Regions from separate parts of the Homo sapiens genome. Here region 2 is linked to region 1. The links are contacts of gene promoters, found by promoter capture Hi-C in human tissues and cell types (Jung and others, 2019). All regions are on one chromosome and are shown on one strand. Each heading gives the region's core, a stretch centred on a gene start or on the middle of the fragment in contact. The rest is flanking DNA. Distances are from core to core; before and after follow the strand shown. Region 1 holds the start of HES7 (hes family bHLH transcription factor 7). Region 2 overlaps PIK3R5 (phosphoinositide-3-kinase regulatory subunit 5).

Region 1 (4,529 bases), core at 614-3,113:
CCAAGCCCACCATCCACCGCAGGGCCCGCCCACTCTGCCCCGGCCGGAGCCTCCTGGCGTCCCCCCTCCCTCCCTCCGCTGCCCCACCCCCGCGCTGTACCCGGGGGCTCCACCCGGCTTCGCTCCCTCAAGTAGCCCACGGCGAACTCCAATATCTCCGCTTTCTCCAGCTTCGGGTTCCGGAGGTTCTACAGACGGGAGGGGAGGGCGCAGAGACAGAAAGGGGTGGGGAGAAAGGGGGAAAGTGGCAGGGGGAAGAAGGGAGGGACGGATGCGGGAGCTGGTGGTGCCCCCGATCGCATTTGCGCACTGCCCACAGAACGCGCGACCAAATGCGGAGTGGAGATGACCAAGGAAAGTCCTGGCCCACCCTGAGACGAAACTGTCCAATCCTAGGGGTTGGAACCAATGCCCAACGCGTGAGGAGGAGATTTGAAACCGCAACCCAGGGAATGAAATTAACCACCCGACATAACAGAGGCTGGCTCATCAGAGGCTGGCTGTGGGGGAGGGGGAACCGGACACTTAGAGACCCAAAGGGTGAAACTGACCGACCCCGGGAGCGAAATTTACAGAACCAGGCGTGAAACTTACAGACCCGAGGGGTGGCGAAGAAGATCGCGTTCTGAGAGCGAGTGGGGGTCTGGGATGGAATTCCAAAGGCGGGACTCGGGTGAGGATGCCTTGGGGCCAGGGTTGCCAACCAAGCTTGTGTCCCCACCCCAGTGGGAAGCCCTGGGACGCGGAAACGGGAAGCTTGGGGACCTAGGGCTAGCGGAGGGACTGACCTGGTCCCGGGTCCGCTCCAGCAGCAGCAGCCTCAGCTCTTCCAGGCTGCGGTTGATGCGGTCCCGGCGCCGCTTCTCCACAAGCGGCTTGAGCATCTGCGACCAGCGAGAAAAGGAGAGCGGGCCGACCAGACCGAGACTCAGTGCGGCCGCCCCGGCGTCGGATCCCGCCGCTGGGAGAGCCCGGCTTCCACCCCGGCCACAAGACCCCAGATTGCCTAGGGCCGGCCCCATTCGATCCCTCTCCGCTCCCCCTCCCAATGCCCCTAGATCAGTTTCTGTAGCTCGCCTCCCCGGATCTTCGCATTCTCCTCTCTCAGTCTCGTCCTCCCTCCTCCCCTCTCTGTGTCTCTCCTCCTCTTTTCTCTCTACGTCTCCGTCTGGTGCAGTTTCTCTTTGTCTCAGTGGAGAACTTTGGGGACTCTCTGCGCGCACGCACGTGCGCCGCACGGTGCCGGGCTCAGACCTGGCGGCCCTGAGTATAGAAAGGGAGATACCTAGCGCGACCGCGCCGCCTCTTTTCCCTCAAAACCCTCCAGGCCTTCACCTTCTCCACGGTTCTCCTAAAATCTTCCACCAGTCTGGGGCCTCTGGAACCAACGCCCCGGGACCTTCTGTACAAGACCGCCTTGGGCCAGCCCCGCCCGGCTCACAGCCAGAGTGGAGCAAGTGCCTATCCTCTTCTCTTTTCGTTCCCACCCTCCTCCCTTGGCTCTGCCCTCTAATTGCTTATTTTACTCCAACACCGGCCCCCTCCCCAGGCCACAAGGTGCCGACACCCATTACCGAGGCCCCTAGTCCTATGTTCCCGCCGCCCACTCAGGTCTGGCTCTGACCCCTGTCCCCTTCTTCATATTTTGCAGCTTCCTCTCCAGCTTCTGGCTCCTGGAGTTCTGGAGCACCGCTCCCCTTCCACCCCTGCGTCCCCAGCCTCTCTCCAGACCGACGGCGTCAGGGGCCCAGTCCCCTAGCCAAACCAGGGACCTCTGCTCCCTCCCCTCCCGCCTCTCACCTTGGGGCCGTCCCTATTCTCAGCTCGATCCCGGGTGACCATTGCTCCTCCGGACCCTGTGTGGACCGGTTCCCTGCTCGCCTGGAGCCTTATATTCCGCGGCCCAAGGGTAGGAGGGATAGGACCCGACCCCGCCCCCTTCGACATCCAGATTCTGCCCCTCTAGGACCCGGCACGAGGCTCCCGGAAAGAGGAGGAGTGAAGGGGGGAGGGGAAGGAGAGAAACTGGCCTGGGAGTGCGGGAAGTGAGGGGTGAATGGGGGCACTGGCTGGTTTACAGACCGTAAGGCTGTATAAGGAGGCGGGACCCAGCTGAAAGGAGGAGGCTATTGGGGCAGAGCTCGCTTGGGGATGAAATTCAGAGTTCCTCCAGAATTGCAGCTTTCTGGGAGGCTTACTGTACCCTCACTAACCCTGAAATAGAAGTTAGCACCTCTCAGCCCCCAGGCTGAATTTTATACATCATCTCCGAAGTTCGCTTCCTAGTCGAGACAGGGAGCAACCCGAGTGCGCTGGGTGAATCTGTCCGACTCAACCGAAGCTCTGCCGGGAGGTTGGAGAGGCGCTCTCTTCTATCTAAGCCAGTTACATTCAAGTCCGCGAACATCTGCGCGCCCACTCTGCGGACAGGGCACTTGTCTAGGCTCGGGCGAGTCATAGTGAGATACGCAGGAGAGACCCAGCTTATCCCTGCAGGATCTAATGGAAAAGACCATGTGACACCAAGTAGCTATTACAGAAGCCCAGTGAAGTAGGTGCTCCGGGAAAAGGTCTCCTTAAGGATGGCTGGACTGAGGAGGATCTTCAAGGCAGAGGGAGCAAGTCTTTGAAACATAGGTATGAGTGGAGAGGTCTTTCCACTTACAGTACAAGTATTTGATTCAAAACTAGTCATAGGAGATTCAGGAGTGTGGCTGATAGGACACCTCACGCAAGTGTGCCCGCATTGCTTGCTTCTGGAGGCCCCTGGTGACTGTAGGGTAGCAGGGAGCAGGCAGTTTACTAAGGGGAAAGCAAGGGGTACAAAAAAGGGATCAACACCCACCTCAAACCAAGAGCATGACCCTCCGCAGAACGATGCCTGACCACTCGAGGGCTTCAGGACAAAGTGTCTGAGAAGATAAATCAGAAACTGAAGGGAACAGCCAGGTTGCCAGGGATAAAGACACGGAAAGACAGGGTTGCAGACCGAGACGGAAGACAGCTGTGAAATCAGAGACCAATGGGGTTTCCTTCAAGCCCTCCCAACGGCCCTCCGCACCTTGGTTTTGTCACGAAGCCTTTCTTGCCATCATAGCCCGAGCCGGGAGAGGCACAGACCTTGAGGAGGGGGCTCCCATTTGGGATCAGGGCCCCCAGCACATCCCACCTCTCCGTCCTTCAGCCAAATGGGAACGCAAATGTGTGTCCCCATCAGCCCCCGCCGCCCCCCTCCTTGGGAACCTGGGCTCGGGCTGAATTTTTCTCACCTGCACGCGAGGCTGGGGGCCCCCGGCTGTTCGCACCCGGGTGTGGGGCCGCCCCTGGCCATATGGGGCGGCTTTATGGCCCGGTGGCCGGATCCGGACGAGAGGAAGGATGACTTGGCGCTCCACCCACGGCAACCATTCGGGACCACTTCCCTGGCCTACACCGTTGCCTGTCCGGGTCCGCCTCAACCTCTTACAATCTCAGATAGGATCCCCGCAGAATCTTTAAGCCGCGCATTGGTGGTTCAGTGGTAGAATTCTCGCCTGCCACGCGGGAGGCCCGGGTTCGATTCCCGGCCAATGCACGAGTACAGTTTTCTTTTCTCCCCTCCAAAAAAAGGATAATATATTTGGTAGCATTTCTAAGAAACATCTTCACTTAAATATTTCTACCAAATATTAATCTTAACCTTTTGACTATAGCAGAGTTTGCAGCCCCAGGCCTAAACGATTCCGCACGCCCTCGCACTCCCCTCCTCCCAGCATGGGGGTCCTGCAGCCTCCACACCCCCCTCCCTCCGTCCCCGGCCCGCACCTCCGCAGGCGTGACCCTGAGAAAGGACACAGTGCTCGGATCTCGGCCCCCCGCGGGGGAAGGGCCAGGTCTCCCCGCCCCCCACTCTACATCCCTTGTTCTTTCCACCTCTCTTCCTCTGTTATTTTCCGTTCTCTCTGAAGCACGCTTTCTTTTCTTAAGTCTATGGGTCTATGCCTTTTTTGTCTCGCCTCCTTTCCGGGTCTCTGAGTGTCTCTTAGCTCCTCCATCTCTGTATCTCTCACGTTTTTTCCAGATCTTCAGCGACTTCTGCCCTGGGTCTCTCTGGTGTTGGTGGTCTCCTCCCTCCGCATCTCTGATTCCGCGTCTCTCCGCGTCTTGGCGTCTGCATCTCCGCCTCTGGCTCTCTCGGGTCTCTGGTATCTCGTCGTCTCTCCGAGTCTCTGTCGCCTCCCGGGACTCTGCGCTCCCACGCTCCTGCCATCCCCTGGGAAGCTCGCTGACACTTCCAGGTTCCTGCCACCTCCCCTCCCCGCCCCTTCCCGGCCGCTTTGATCCCGCACGCGTCGGCCCGAGGGCGGGCGGGTGGGCGCACAGCCACCTGCGGCGACCACTTGTGAGCGGGGCGGGGCGGGCCGGCTGGGCGGGGCGGCGGGGCTCCCCGCGGTCCGCTCCCTTCCGGCGCGCTCCGCCTCCCACCGCTCGCCTCCTCCTGGCTCTGTCCGCGGTCGCTGCCGGGGCCTGTGGGCTCGGGGCTCAGGTTC
Region 2 (5,192 bases), core at 1,914-4,413, 830 kb after region 1:
TAGTCTATTAAAACAACAACAACAACAAGAGGCTGGAAGTCAGAGAGGGTGGCTTAACAGGGAAAGAAAATGGAAAATTAAGCTCTGAAGGCAAGTCAGAGAGTGTCACAAGGGAGAAAAGAGGCGGAAATGTGAAGGAGCCAGTGTGACTTCCTGGGGCATACGTCAAGATGGAATCAAGGTCCCCAAGTTAAGGTGATACGAAAGAGAGAGAATGAGCGTATCATGAAAGCAAGCCTTAAGAAAAATACAGCAGCTGGGTGCGGTGGCTCATGCCTGTAATCCCAGCACTTTGGGAGGCCGAGGCCGGTGGATCACAAGGTCAGGAGATCCAGACCATCCTGGCTAACACGGTGAAATCCCATCTCTACTAAAAACACAAAAAATTAGCCAGGTGTGGTGGCGGGCGCCTGTAGTCCCAGCTACTTGGGAGGCTGAAGCAAGAGAATGGTGTGAACCCGGGAGGCGGAGCTTGCAGTGAGCAAAGATTGAGCCACTGCACTCCAGCCTGGGCGACAGAGCGAGACTCCGTCTTAAAAAAAAAAAAAAAAAAAAAAAAGAAAAGAAAAGAAAAGAAAAAGAAAAATGCAGCATACATCAAAAAGGACCCGTAAAGCTATTTTCAGAGTCCAAACCAGAAGAAATCAGGCCAGTAACTCAAGACAGTGGCCGACGCATGAGAGAAAGCCGAAATGCGCTCCTATGTTGCCTCCATCTTTTCCTCCACTTATAAGTAGGAGCTAAAGCTTTACCATGATAAGCTTTACCATTGTAAGGAGAATGGTTAACCCACTGGAAAGCATGAATCACAGATGTTTTATTTAGTCAGCAGAAAATATGTATTGAGGGTCTACTATTTGAGGGACTTCACTAGGCACTGGGGGTCCAGAAATCTCACAGAGCTCGTGGCCAGGAGGAGGATTGAGAGGTCACTACACAATGTGAAGGAGCAACAGAAAAATATGAAAAAGACAACCCAGTAGAAAACTGGACAAAAGGCTTGAATAGACGCTTCACAGAAGAGGGTGTCCAAATGGCCACTAAACATGTGGAGAGGTGCTCCGCTTCATTAGTCAGAAGGGAAGTGCACATTCCCACCACAAGGCAATACCACTACACACCCAGCAGAAGGGCCAAAATGAAAAAGGCAAAAAAAAGCACTGTTGTGAGGATGTGAAGCCACGCAAACCCTCACGGCTGCTGCGGGGAATGTACGCTGGTACGACAACATACCCAGTGGAAGATGCTCTATCAGACCCTAAAGCTCAACTTCAGCATGCTCCAGGCCCCAGGTATATGCCTCCTAGCTACATGCCCAGTGGACATGCAACAGGAAGTTCAGAGAAGCACCATCCAAAATAACTCTCAAACTAGAAACTACCCAGTGGGTTAGGTGTCCCAGTGGAGGCTAATATGGGACAGGTGCCATAGGAACTTGGAGGAGGGAGAATGTCTATTAGCAAAGCTTCTCCAAAAAGGTGACTCCCGAGATAACATTTCAGGAAGGAGGAGCTGCCCTGGGTGAGATTCAGGCATGAATCTCATGGTAGGAAAATAAACTGAGGCAAGAGGCGGGAGACAGCATGGTTCCTTTAGGGAAATGCTGGCAGTTCAGCCCTACTGAAGGGTAGGCATGACATGGGGCACGCTGGGAGATGATGCTGCATGGGCTGGCATGGTAGACTGTGAACAGCCTTATCTGCCAAGCTAAGTGCTTAAGGGTTTACTCAAGCGCCATGTGGAGCCACTGCTAAATTTCGAGCTGGTGAATGACACATCAGCTTTTGGATTTGGAAGGTTGTACCAGCCACAGGGTGAAAGGTAGATTGCGGGGAAAGGGTCCGATATTGAAACATCTGATGCCAAATAGGGAGGCTTGCTGCTGAAAATGAGTTTAGGATTGCAGAAGAGAATAAAGGCATCTCAGAGTCATAAAGAAACTTGAGGTTGTGAAAGGGAGCTGCTACCGATTATCTTTGAAGAATCAGAGAAAATGAAAGATGTATAAGAGACAGAGACAGAGAAAGACAGAGACAGATTAGAAAATGTTGTCGTCATCGTGAGGAACAGAAAAAGAAAGGGAGAATTCTGTAATGGCATTTGCAGCAACCTGAATAGGATTGGACACTATTATTCTAAGTGAAGTAACTCAGGAATGGAAAACCGAACATCATATGTTCTGACTCATAAGTGGGAGCTAAGCTATACGGATGCAAAGGCATAAGAATGATACAATGGATTTTGGGGACTTAGCAGGGGAAAGGTGGGAAGTGGGTGAGGGATAAAAGGCTACACATTAGGTACAACGTACACTGCACCAAAATCTCACAAGTCACCTCTAAAGAACTTACTCACGTAACCAAATACTACCTGTTCCCCAAAAATCTATGAAAATAAAAATTTAAAAACAATTTTTTTAAGTGGAATTTTTTAAAGTACATGTCTGAGTCCACCAGTCCCCTGGCAACATTCTCTATACATTATTAAAAGACAGTTTGTGAATGCTAAGGGAAAGATCCAGGAACCACCAGCAGCCAATAGGGATCAATGGATTCACTGACTAAAGAGGTAATAGAAGAACAGCCACAATAGCAGCATATCTGAATTTGAGCAAGTCTTGCTATATAGTTTCATGATGATGTAAAAAATACGAATGATAACACAGATAGATGGATTCATTACTGGCTTCATAACCTCACCCAAAGGGTGTTGAGTAGCTTCATCTGTAGGGACATTGCTCCTAAAATGCCAGAGAACCCTGCCTTTGGTCCTTTATAGCATGATTGTGGTAAAATATATGCAATATAAAATTTACGATTGTAAGTATTTTTTTAATTCCAACTTTTATGTTAGATACAGGTGCAGGTTTGTTATATGGGTATATTGCATCCAGGTAGTGAGCACAGTACTCAATAGGAGGTTTTTCAATCCTCACCCTTCCCTCTCTCCCCACTGAGAGTCCACAATGTCTATTGCTCCCATGTTTATGTCTACTTGTGCTCAGTGTTTAGCTCCTACTTGTAAGAGAGAACATATGGTATTTGGTTTTCCATTCCTACATTAATTTGCTTAGGATTATGGCCTCCAGCTCCATCCATGTTGCTGCAAAGGACATGACTTCATTCTTTTTTACGGCTGCATAGTATTTCATGGTTTATATGTAGAACATTTTCTTTATCCAATCTACCATCAATGGGCACCTAGGTTGATTCCATGTCTTTGCTATTGTGAATAGTGGGGTGATGAACACATGTGAGTACATGTGTCTTGTTGGTATAATGAGCTATTTTCCTTTGGGAATATACCCAGTAATGAGATCACTGGGTCAAATGGTGGCTCTGTTTTAAGTTCTTTGAGAAATCTCCAAACTGCTTTCTATAGTGGTTGAACTAATTTACGCTCCCACCAACAATGTGTAAGTGTTCCCTTCTCTCCACAGCCTCGCCAGCATCTGTTGTTTTTTGGCTTTTCAATAGTGGCCATTCTGACTGGTGCGAGATGGTATCTTGTTAAGGTTTTGATTTGCATTTCCCTCATAATCAGTGATAATGAGCATTATCTTTGATATGTGTGTTGACCATTTGTACGTCTTCTTTTGAGAAGTGTCTGTTCATGTCCTTTGCCTGTTTTTAAATGGGGTTATTTGGTTTTGGCTTGTTGATTTGTTTAAGTTCCTTATAGACTCTGGATATTAGACCTTTGACAGATGCATAGTCTGCAAATATTTTCTCCCATTCTGTAGGTTGTGTGTGTACAGTTTTGTGCGTACAGTTCTAAGTATACAGTTCAGTGACATTAAGTACATTCACAATGTTGTGCAACCATCCCCACCATCCATTCACAGAACTTTTTCGTCTTCCTAAACTGAAACTCCATACCCAATAAACACTAACTCCCCGCCACTTCTCCCCCCAGCCTCTGGTAACCTCTAATCTACTTTCTGTTTCTATGAGTTTACTCTAGCTACCTCATTTGGGTGGAATCACACAGTATTTATCCTTTTGTGTCTGGCTTACTTCACTTAGCATAATGTCTTCAAGGTTCATGCATATCGTAGCATGTGTTTGAACCTCATTCCTTTTTAAGGATCAATAATATTCAATTGAATGTATATACACATTTTGTTTATCCATTTATCCATTAATGGACATTTGGGTTAGTTTGACCTTTTGGTGTAGCATGCTGTTTTTTATTAATAGTTTTCAGCAGGGCTTAGGAGGCAAGCTTACTCCACAACAGAAGGGATAAAGAACATCTATGTAACAGTGAAGATTCACAAAGTTCAAATGTGGATGAGACTCAAAATTGTTCTTCCATATCTATTCTCCTTCCTTCTATGGGGATATAACTTTTAGGAATTTTAGATCACGTTTCCCAGACTCTTGTAACTAAGTATGACCATATGACTACATTCTGGCTACTGGAATATGAATAGACATTGATAAGTGCAATTTCCAAGTCATGCTTTTAGAAGGAAGAGGCATGCACTTCCCTTCCCCCTTTCCCCTTCTTGCTAGCTGGAATGCAGATGCGATGGCAATTGCTAGAGCAGCCATTATGGACCATGAGATGAGAGCTACATGTTGAAGAAGGCAGAGCAATGACACAAAAGGAACCTTGGTTCCCAACCTATAAAGCTGTCATGTGAAGTCTGGATCACTTATGCCCAGCTTGCTACCTGAGACAGAAATAAACCTCTATCTTGTTTAAGCCACTATTATTTTGGGTCTCTCCAATCCAACAGAGAAACCAGTAGACCAACTAATATTTCAGTGAATGCTGAGTTACCTAATAAGAGAAATGATGTTTTTGTTTTTCTGTTACTATGCCATTTAGTTACAGCTGGTGGATTTCCCCTGAATTTGTAGAATATGGTTTATGGTCTGACTTAAAGACCACACGGTATACCCAAAATTTCCTTGATAGAGACACCTCATAAAAGGTGAAGTCATCCTACAGACATGACTTCTGGAGCACAGGTTTTCTACATGGAGTCCCCACCTCTGTGTGTCCTACTCTAGGGAGAGCAGCAGGGATTGAGCTATTTAAAGGCCAGACACTCATTGGAGCAAACTGGGCTGGCCAGTTAGTATTGAAGCGACTTAAGTCGAGAGAGTAATATTTTTATAAATGAATTAGGGGTAATCTCTTACTGGTCAATAAAGTACCATGAGAATAAATTATGGGCATTA

Evidence for each region. The method cuts DNA at HindIII sites, captures the fragments that hold promoters and counts their contacts. A contact is called where the count stands out against the background at its distance.
Region 2: a fragment that was not itself captured here is called in contact with the fragment with the promoter of HES7 in region 1 in 1 of the 25 tissues and cell types used here (lymphoblastoid cells).

What each region holds. Positions count from the first base shown.
Region 1 is chr17:8,122,243-8,126,771 of GRCh38, forward strand. HES7 (hes family bHLH transcription factor 7) reads right to left here and starts at 1,864. Exons shown (of 4, transcript NM_001165967.2): 1 at 1,801-1,864; 2 at 789-884; 3 at 101-188. The coding sequence starts at 1,842. TRG-GCC2-6 (tRNA-Gly (anticodon GCC) 2-6) reads left to right here and starts at 3,504; the gene lies at 3,504-3,574. RefSeq lists enhancers at 1,722-2,242, 3,519-4,320, 4,133-4,192 and silencers at 3,383-3,432, 3,543-3,592, 4,273-4,462. The HindIII fragment of the contact is 8,809 bases long and covers 1-4,529 here.
Region 2 is chr17:8,947,508-8,952,699 of GRCh38, forward strand. The region is part of intron 1 of PIK3R5 (phosphoinositide-3-kinase regulatory subunit 5); the gene reads right to left. Among named protein-coding and RNA genes, the nearest start is that of PIK3R5, 16 kb to the right of the region's middle. The HindIII fragment of the contact is 5,738 bases long and covers 295-5,192 here.